Linked DNA regions of Homo sapiens: region 1 is linked to region 2. Evidence: promoter capture Hi-C in 16 types of primary human blood cells and fetal thymus (Javierre and others, 2016). All regions are on one chromosome and are shown on one strand. Each heading gives the region's core, a stretch centred on a gene start or on the middle of the fragment in contact. The rest is flanking DNA. Distances are from core to core; before and after follow the strand shown. Region 1 holds the start of SLC9B2 (solute carrier family 9 member B2). Region 2 holds the start of DAPP1 (dual adaptor of phosphotyrosine and 3-phosphoinositides 1).

The links. The method cuts DNA at HindIII sites, captures the fragments that hold promoters and counts their contacts. A CHiCAGO score of 5 or more calls a contact.
Region 1: a contact is called between a fragment that was not itself captured here and the fragment with the promoter of DAPP1 in region 2, in 3 of 17 cell types (total B cells, naive B cells and total CD8 T cells). The highest score is 5.8, in total B cells.

Annotation. Positions count from the first base shown.
Region 1 is chr4:103,073,807-103,079,007 of GRCh38, forward strand. It overlaps SLC9B2 (solute carrier family 9 member B2), which reads right to left and starts at 2,955. Exons shown (of 12, transcript NM_178833.7): 1 at 2,378-2,955. BDH2 (3-hydroxybutyrate dehydrogenase 2) reads right to left here. Exons shown (of 10, transcript NM_020139.4): 10 at 3,786-5,201. RefSeq lists a silencer at 2,615-2,724 and an enhancer at 2,835-2,954. The HindIII fragment of the contact is 645 bases long and covers 2,909-3,553 here.
Region 2 is chr4:99,815,492-99,821,001 of GRCh38, forward strand. DAPP1 (dual adaptor of phosphotyrosine and 3-phosphoinositides 1) reads left to right here and starts at 1,336. Exons shown (of 9, transcript NM_014395.3): 1 at 1,336-1,523. The coding sequence starts at 1,423. The HindIII fragment of the contact is 961 bases long and covers 980-1,940 here.

The DNA.
Region 1 (5,201 bases), core at 1,981-4,480, 3.3 Mb after region 2:
ACTAAAATCAGAATCTACAGAGACCGAATCTACCCCAAGTGGGACAGACATGACTTATGGCCTGTCTAAATGCCAAGTGTTCAGGTATGCCAGTAGGACCCTTCTCCCGCCCTAGGGATAAGTCATTATTGGTGTAAATCAATCTCTGTAACACCATTCCTCTTTGCCACTTATTGGCTAAGGAGTGAGCATGATTCATTTCTTGCCATTGGAATTTGTAGGCAAGACTATTGGGGCATATTACATAAGATTTTCCTTCTTAATAAAGACAGAGAGAGAGGAGGAAAATCCTCTCCTCTTTTTGTCTTTAAATGACCAGGTAAAGAGGCAAGGGAAGTTGGGATTGTGGATGGGTTTCTTGGGACAATTCTAGCAGCCATCATTCACCCATGAAGAAAAGTCAAGATTAGCTGAACACAGAAAGCAACATAGAGCCCTGATATTACTGAGCTACTGAACAAACCCTGGACCCACCTACCTTCAAACATCTTCATGTATGAGCAAAGTACATCTGTATTTTTGAAGGGAGTTTTGGCTGAATATCCTGTTACTTGCAGCCAAAAGCATCCTAACCAATATAACAGGTGATTTTGTTGCAGAACCATCCCTGAGAAGCCCTGATGAACAGCAGTGATGAGGAACCTCTGTCTTACAAACTTTAGTTTCTATCTTTCTAGCTTCTTGTTACAGTGCAAAATCATCATAGACAATGAATGATCAGAACACTGCCTTTGTATTGAAATTTCTCAAAAATGTCCAGAAAATAACATTTTATAAAGTTAAAAATTAGTGCCAAGGTTTTCACTGCCATTCTTTTAGTCAACAGAAATTATTTGGATTGTAAGATTATGTATTTCCCCTCCTCTACCCTGAAGTTAAATTGTAATATTTGAATACTGAATGAAGAAAAGTTGGACTTATAAACGTTTGGTTGTTTTCCAAATTTCCACTCATGAAACAAAACAACAACAATAAAATATCACTACTATTGCTGCCTGGAGTTTCATTTCTGCTTTTTCTACTTGAAGAAATTCAAAATCTAACTCAAATGTCACCTTCTCAGTATTTCCTAACTCCAACATTGACAAACTGTCTCCCTCGTTTTCCTCTCTGATGATTCATTCATTCATTCAACAAACAAGAGCTATTAAGCTCTTGTTACGTCCCAGTCCTTGAGCTGAGGATTCAGAAGTGAACGGTCTTAAATAGTTCCTATATTCAGATCTTGTAATCTAGTTACAGGATGATAAAGGATGATAAATGATTCCTAAGCAATCACAATGAAATATGGTTAAGTTTCAACTTTAGACACATAACAACCCCATCCCTTAACAAGTTTCATTTCCTTTTTTTTCTTTTCTGAGATGGAGTCTTGCTCTGTCACCTAGGCTGGAGTGCAGTGGCACAATCTTGGCTCACTGCAACCTGTGCCTCCTGGGTTCAAGCGATTCTTCAGCCTCAGCCTCCGGAATAGCTGGAATTACGGGCGTGCACCACCATGCCCAGCTAATTTTTATATTTTTAGTAGAGATGGGGTTTTACCATGTTGGCTAGGCTGGTCTCGAACTCCTGACCTCAGGTGATATGCCCACCTCGGCCTCACAAAGCCTTAACAAGTTTCTCTGGTGTGATAGGCACAAGAGTAACAAAGATGACTAAGATGCAGTCTGCCCTTTAAGGGATGGTCAGAGACTGATATGTGTTTACCAAAATCGTTTACTCTTCTGCCTGGGTCCATAGTACATTTCCAGTCTCCCTTGCAGGTCAGTGTGGCATGTGACTGAAGTCTGGTCAATGGCATGTGGACATAAATAGTATGTGATTTCCAGTCCTCACCCATAAGAAACAATCCTCATGCAATCCTCTAGTAGCTTTTCTTTTTCTGTCCGTTGCCTGGAAACTAAGGACTCCAAGGTCTTAGGGGATAGCAAAGCCATAATATAAAAGGAGTTTGGGTTCCTGAATAATTGAGTAGAAGGCCAACAGCTGAACACGTGAATGGACTTGACATGAACGAGAAATAAGCCTGAACTATGTTTAGTTACTGAGATGTTTTACTTTATCTCTTACAGCAGCTACTGCTGTCTTAAGGTTATATTCTTCAGTCAATAGCATACGATGATTCTTAGCACCTCGAGGATGCTAACCCAGTCCACAAAGGCAACACCCCCTCTGGTTAATCTGAGAACTAAAATAAAAGCAAGCAAGAAAACCCACGCCAACACCTTACAACAGTAAACAGACACGCGCCCGTCACCGGGTGTACAAACAGAAAAGGCTGGGCCCCTCGCTCGCGTCTCCGGTCCAGCAGGCCTACAGGGTACCCGCCGCTGGCGCTGGGTTTATTTTTACCCTTAGTGTCTCTGGGGCCTCTCACCTGGCAGTCTCCGGCGAAGTCGACCAGGCTCCGTCTGAACGATTAGGAAAGGGGCTGTGGGGGAGGCGGCGGAGCCCGGTCTAGCCACCGCGCTCTGGGGTTCCCGATTCGCGCATCTTCCCAGGCTGAGCCGGGAGGCTGCGTTGACTGCAGATAAACGGTCTCAGGGCGCGGCACCGCGTGTAGTCGGCCCCGCCTTTCGCACGAACCCGCTGGGCGACACCGCGCAGGGAGGTCCGACCCGTCGGCGCCGGTACAGGCTCCGGAGTAAGCATGGGTTGGTCCGGGGCCCGCAGCGGCAGCCCCGTGTGCCCTCCGCCGGGTTTCAGGTCCGGCGGCGCGGGTGCAGAGCCGCGTGCGATGCCTGGTGCGCGTGGCTTCCCCCGGAAAGGTGGCGCCAGGCCGACCATGGGCCCACGTCCCGGGGCCTCGGAGCGGCACCGCGCGGTCTTTCAGCTGCTTATCCTCCCTGGGCGGGTCCGCAGGCTTCTGGGGCCAGGACCAGCGAGCTCCCGGGAAAGCTTCCCGGAAAGCTTACCCAGAGAGCGCGGACCCAGGCGCCGAGTCTTCCCGGAGATGACGAGACACCGCGAGAGGAGCACAGCGCAGGCTCCTCGGGACTCCGCGGCGCAGGCCGGGCAGCCCGTTACTTGTTTTATCGTTCCCGAAACCAACCTCTAAGTTGTCTATCAGTCCTCCACCTTTTAGCTGTACCTCTTAGAAGTGTCTTCTCAGCTGCGGTGGGAAGATAGGATTCTTTCTTAAGGTGACCAATTAAATGGCCGGATAAAAGACTTGTTCTGCCCCCCTTTATCGCTTAACACCTGCCCTTCTTGTTGTATTTTAGATTTTTAACCCTTCTATCAGCAGTGTGATTCTATTTCATTTAATTCTCATTTCATGTTTGTGTCTTCCTTTTCTCTGTATTTCCTCTTGTGTGTGTTAAGACGCGCGCACCCCTTACCTGTTTTTCACTCCTGTAAGCAAGTGCCAATCTTAATCACCGCTTTTCAAGCAAGGGAGATTATCCTCAAATTTCTCCACCAGTCAGAAACCATTCATTCTTGTCTCTCAGGTCCTCTTTTGTGATGAACCTATTGGATAGGTTCCATCCAATACCCTTCTTCAGATCATCTGAAATGATTATTTTCCTAAACGGAACTCTTCCTCTCCTAAAGCTTGTAAAAATTTCTAGTGACATTCAGCTTCCTCTTACCACAGGAATGACATATATTTTTCCTTTTAGTCATATGTACTTCATTAATATATCACCTGATTTGATTAACATGACTTTGGAGAACATTGAATTTTTTGGCTAGATTTTACTTCGTTTTTATTGCTGATAGTGTTTATAAAAATGTTTTATAGTTTATGGTCGGCTGTGAGAAAGACTAACTCAGATCATTTGTTAATGTTGGAGCCCATTTTGTAGAATTCGTTGTGCATTTATTTAAAATTTATTTGTTCATAGCTATACATATATTATACATGTATACCTGCTCACAGCATAAAGTATTTCATGACATACTTGTAAGAGTCAGTGTTCTATGAATTCACTAGAGAAGTTACAGCATTTTGATTATGATACACGAAAAGAAACCCAAGTCATTTAGCTTAACTCCTTAATTTCATAAACCAGAAAACTAAAATCCAAGATAGATTGGGTGACTTGGTCTAGATCACAAACCAAAGTTAGCCATAATTCGGTAGTGTAGTGCCCGGTCCAAAACCTCATAGATAATCTTATAATCAATGGACTCTTTCTGAATGCTAGTCAAAATGTCCTTTTGTGTGAATTTTAATGTACCGTCATCAACTGCATGATATTCTTCCCCATACACAAAGTGTTATCTTTTTGTTGTCCATTTCAGAATTTTCCATGTTAATATTAAAGTTCTAGGAAAAAAGGCTAAGAATCACTGCACATTTATTGAGTATCTCAGTGTGCATCATACCATTTGGTCATTTGAGGTTGCAACAAGTAAAAAACAAACATAAAACCCTTAAATTAAAATAAAAACAAAAAACTTTGCCCTGACAATGTTACAGAATTAACATCCATAAATTTACTTTTCTTGAAAAATTTATTTTCTTTAATTTCGTTTGTTTCCTGTTACATAATTTATATTTAAATTTACATTTATTTATCCAGAAACTATGTCCAAATTTTATGTCCTCTTTTCTGTTATCCTGGAGTTTGGTGAAGAAATCTGTACTTAATTTAGAAAAGAAATCCCTCTAACTGACAATATTGTTAGCTAACTATATATTTCTTAGGCCCATGTCAAATATCATTGCTTATTTTAATAAAGATTGTTTAGTTAGACTAAGAAAATAGTAAATAATAAGGGATGGCATCCGTTAAGTATAAACACTGGATTATTTTTCATAACATAACAGGTCAACAATATCGTTTTGAGGCTGAACTCCTTTACTCCTTTTACTGTAAGCTATTGAAGCCAAACTCCTTCCTACCTTTGTTCATTTATGATGGTGTAAAATTTTAAAATTAGGATCTACATACAGAACAATGCAGAATTATATAAAAATATTTGAATATTGAAAAATGAAGTGGAAATTATTATTATTATTTAGGTACAGGGTCTTGCTCTGTCACCCTGGAGTGCAGTGGCATGATTACAGCTCACTGCAGCCTCAAACTCTTGGGCTCAAGTAATCCTCCTGCCTTAGCCTCTGTTAACCATGCTGGTCCTGAACTCCTGGCCGCAAGTGATCCTCCTGCCTTGGCCTCCCAAAGTGCAGGAATTATAGGCATGAGCTACCATGCCTAGTCCTGAAATTACTATCTTCTTCCTTAACCCCC
Region 2 (5,510 bases), core at 86-2,585:
GGGTCTCACCGATCCCGGGTGAACAGTGGTAATAGGGAGGAAGATGAAGGATAGAACCATTGCACAGCAGCCTTTTGCAATCATCTAGTCCTTTAGGAACAGTTCTGCTGTGCTGTTTAGTCCTCAGGCCACACTGTGAGAACAAGTTACAGAGCACTGTGGTGAGTGCTGAATGAGTCAGGGAGTAGAGATAGGAAGAGAGAGAGAGAAAGGGAGAGGGAGAGAGAGACCTGTAGGTACATAGAAAAGGCAGGAAGCAACATATGTCCTTGACTCATTTGATACTGCACTTTGTTCCACTTCCCAAGGATTCAGTCACTGCAATTTACCTTTAGCATTCCAGGCAGATAGAATCCTGCTCTACATATGAATCTGGGCACAAAGCCATGCAGGTGTGAGTAAGCCCATGAAGGAAGTGGCACTCAAAGACTCTAGGAGTTCAGGCCAGGTGCAGTGGCTCATGCCTATAAGCCCAGCACTTTGGGAGGCCGAGGTGAGTGTATCACCTGAGGGTGAAACCCTGTCTCTATAAAAACACAAAAATTAGCAGAGCATGATGACGGGTGCCTGTAATACCAGCTACTTGGGAGGCTGAGGCAGAAGAATCACTTGAACCCTGGGAGGTGGAGGTTGCAGTGATCTCAGGTCATGCCATTACACTCCAGACTGAGTGACAGAGCGAGACTGTCTCAAAAAAAAAAAAAAAAAAAGACTCCAGGAGTTCTAATATGCCCCATTAGGTGGGCACCAGAATGGCCCCTTGTAACTTTTTCCTACCTTCTCCTCTCCTAATTCTTTTTCTGTGGAGGAAACAATAATTGTCTCTGAATCATCCCTATTCGGAGCATTGAGGATATATTAGAAGGTCTGGGTAAACAAGCAGAAATATTGCAAAAGTGCTAAAACATCAAACTTCAGGGTCGAATTTGTGGTTTGCTTCTGCTTTTTCTATCCACTCTAAAGGTGTTCCTGATAGAGAAGCTTCCTCAGTGTTCCCTGTGTTGGTGTGTAAGACAGAAAGAAGATGGGGTAAAAGAGTGCACGCATCCTCCACTACAAACCAGAGGCTGATAGCATTAGGGAGAAGCTAGGGTTTGGCCTCACACAAGCAGTTTGCACTGTTGTCCAATCCCAGGTGGGGTGGTTGCCTCTTCATTTCCTTTGATAGCAACCGCCTGTTGCGTGATGTAGTGTGGGTGTCCTCAGAGGTAGCTACCTAAGTTTGCATACTTCCTGACTGACAGAACACTCCTGCCAGTGCCTCCAGGCCAGGGTGGTGGTGTTGGTGGGAGGAGTAAGTAACCAAGTTTCACTTCCTTGCCTTGGAGACTCAGAGCCATAGCAGGCTGCTGTCTCACAGAGCGAGAAGGTGTCAGGAGCAGCCCAGTTGTGTCTCTCTCTCTACCTCTGTGAAGGGCGCGAATGGGCAGAGCAGAACTTCTAGAAGGGAAGATGAGCACCCAGGATCCCTCAGATCTGTGGAGCAGATCCGATGGAGAGGCTGAGCTGCTCCAGGACTTGGGGTAAGGCAGCAGATCTCCTTTCAAAGTACCTAGTGGGTGGACATTGACTCCGCACTCCCACCTGCATGCTTTGATTAATGACTATCTTCAGTGCCTTGTTGCCCTCTGCCACCTCAACCATTTATTTTTTTCCACTTTATTCATTTGTATCTGTTAAGTATCTTCTTGTCTGGGGCTAATTCCATTGGAAAAGCAGGCATTATTTTTCTAGATGTGAAAACAAGTTGGTTGAGAAAATAGGGAAAAAAATCAAATGTTGGACATTCTTTGAGAAGAGGGACAGAATTGGGATATAGAGGTGATGTTGCCTGGCTTCCTTGATGTTGCTCTGGTTTATGAATAAATGCGCTGTTCAAGAGTTTCTAGCACTGACCCAGGGACAGTAAAAGGACTGTGTTTCTGGTAAGATAAACAGAAAGCTTACCCTACTGTAAGGGAGAGGGACTTTTTCAAAAGACAGAGAATGAGGAAGTTCCTGCAACAGTCTCGCTTGTATATTTCTTTCTCCTGATACTGCATTTGTGAGATTTGATATCGTATGTATGTCCAGAGAGCCAACTTTGAGCCTTTCAGTACCAACAATCCAGGAAGAGGATAAAATTTCTGCTTCAAACAGGTAAGCATAGGTAGGTGGAGTCATTGGAGCTCTGTCTTTAAGAAGGGACCCAGATGACAACTCATCCGGGTATTTAATAAGAAACAAGTATTACACAAGAGAGGAATTGGGGATTTCCCAGAGAAACTGCCTAATGCACTGGGAATATCCCAATGAAGGTGGCTTTGACACCTGTGCATGAGGAGAGGCAAAACCTTTACCTTCTGCCTGGACAAATAGCTCTAACTCTTCATAGCAATCCAATGACATAGGAGCTGTTGTCATCTTCATCTTACAAAGGATGAAAACAAGTACCAAACAGGTTTGAATAACTTGCTTGCTAGTCACACATCAATTACATAGCAAAGCTGGGCATCCAACCTACCACAGGCTATGTCCGAAACCAAAGAAAAACCAAAATAGAGTTGAAATCTCTCTGTGTTAAGGCTGCAGAGATTGTATCTTTTTATGTTGTATTACTGTAAAAGTTTATTAATAATTCCTGTCTTTAGATTATAAAACTGAGGTCTCGGAATTGAACTCTACTTTCATTTGGCAAATCAGATAAAACACCTGGAATTTTCATTAAAGAAAACTCCCCTTATTAGGAAGCCAGAGCTCTAGAATCTCTCTATCCCTCTAGATTGAATCCCCAAACAGAAGAGGTAAAAGGCCCTTCTGTGAGCATCCAGCACAGGTGTCACCAAGTCCAAAAGCTAAAGCTGAACTGTGGCCCTCAGTGTCTTATTGAACTATTAAGTTACAATGCTTTACATGTTCTGTTAACTGTATTCCCAGCCCACTGTAATAGAAAACCCCAAAGGAGGAGATAGAGGAATATATTCAATTCTGGTCCTTTAGTTAAACAAACAATCCTAGAACCCAGAGTCTATGGTTGAGTACTGTGGGAACACACTTAGATGACAAAGATGAATTAGATGCTGTCTCTGTGCCCCACCATGATGTCAACAGCAAGAAGCAACTACAGGTGAAACCCACGGGTGGAATAGGACTGTGTCTTTCCTCCATGTGCAAAGAATAGACATTGAATACAAAACTGAGTCACACCACTTCCCTGCAAAAAAAAAAGGGTACATTCATGGCCAGATTTCCCTATTTCAGAAGGCGTGAACAATTAATAAACATGAGGATGATTTCTATAGCAATGGGCAACCTGCAGTTATCTGGGAAAACTGCTCTACAGTCCTGGTTCTTGACCTTGGCTGTGCTCTGGAACATCTTGACACCCAAACCACAGACTTGACAAATGATTTCAGTATCTCTGGGGATGGGTGTTTTCTTGTCAAACTCTCCAAGTAATTCCAAAGTGAGACCCTAGGTTGATGATCACTGCATAGAATATGTATCTACCAAATGCATTAGGTAAATGTGGTCTTGTTTTTCATTTTAAGTCTGTTGGGTGTGTACTTGAATCTTAAAATTACTAATAAATGTTGATATTTTGTTTGTTGGTTTAGGGGCATTTCGATTAGCAACTTTATTGAGGTTATTTTACATATCATAAAATATACCCGTTTCAAGTGTACAATTCAATACTTTTGACTAACTTTACAGAGTGATACAACCATCACCATAAATCAGTTTTAGGACATTTCTGTTCTCCCAAAAAGAACCCTCAGATGTATGGCTTATTTAAGCATACTCAACAGTGTGCTGGAAAAACAGCTGGGAAGAGTTGGGGTGTGGAGAAAGCCCTGATTTCAAGAATTTGCCTAATTCCCTGGTATAAATACTCCCACTATAGACAATTTCAAGCTGCCAACAATTTAACATCATCGAATTGAATATTTAATAATCAACTTGTGCCAGTACTTGCTCCTGCAGCACCTCACTGATACATTTTTTATAGATAACAATTTGAGAACTCTTGACAATGACTTGTTGCCTCTGCCAGAATACTGAACATAACTCGAACATTATAATGACTTTTTCTTTGAACCTTTAACCACTGGCGAGATAGAATCTCTACCAAACCTTCTGATTAATTTAGTTTCCAAAGACCTCCTTAAAAACAAAATGATTTAATGTAATGGATAGATAAAAGGTAGCTGGTTTTAATGACTTAATTTTTCAATTATTTTTAAGAGGTTATTTGAGTAGTTAGATAAATCCTTACGTTTATGTTTTTGATAGACATAAACAGATAAGTTAGTGGTTAAATTACAGAAATAGCAGAAGTCTTTGTTCTTGGGCCTCTGTTTTTTTCAGGCTCTGGAATATGTAAATCCTGTAAATTGAGCCCTGAACTGCAGCAAATCCATCACTTGCCTTTCCAGGACATATACAACTTGCTCAGAGTACAGGTTTATTATTTTCTAAAATACCTAAATCAAGCAACACAGTGCTTTTCCATGTCTCATTTATAGAGTGTCAGCCTAAAATCATTAATTTTCTTTCATCTAAAATACATTAATGTGTCCAGAAGCAAAGGAGAAATAAAACCATCTTAAATTGTTGCTCAGCTTCGCTTACACTTCTCAGGGGAGGGTATGGGCTTAGGGGGAAGAGAGGTGTGGGGAGGGCAAGAAGTGAGGGTGTGGAGAATCAGGGGAGAGGAAGGAGGTGGACCATGAACGAGGAGATGGGTCAGGCTGTTTGCTGCTTGCAAAATGAAAATATGGCAAAATAAAACAAGTAACAAATACTGGAGATATCACCTAAGTAACAAACTGGTAAAGAATAGCTAGTTAAATTACTGAAAATTCCAGCAATTCTTTGGCTTTAACAAAGGTTACTATACTATTTCTACATATAGCTATATATATGTATAAACACAAAAGAAATAACAAAATGAAAGTGTTTTAGCATACTTTAAAATTAAATATTCAAATGATCTAGTCAGTTGTAACTCCAAGTGAGAAACATAATAAACGTTCTCTTTTTTAAATACTTTCTCAAATCGAAAGTTGTATAAGAAAGTGCCAGTGTTTGGCTGGATTGGCCAGTGCCAAAGAACTAGATTCCAAGCTCTGAATATTTAAATAAATTGATAACTAATTAGTCACATATAAGAGAAGTTTAGAGTAGACCATGGAGCAGCAAACCTTTTTTTTATAAAGGGCCGGGTAACGAATGTTTTAGGCTTTGCAGGCCTTACAGTCTCTACCTCAACTACTCACATCTGCTGTTGTGCAAAAACTACCAGAGAACACAGAAACAAATGACCGTGATGGTGTTCAAACAAAACGTTATTTATACACTGAAATGTGAATTTCATATAATTTTTATGAATATTTTTCTATTTCCCTCAAGCATTTCAAAATGTACAGCCATTCTTGGCTCCCAGTCCATACTAAAACAGGTGTCTGACAGGAATTAACCCTCAGCTGGTGGTTTGCTGACCCACGGAATAAATGATAATAAACAAAATG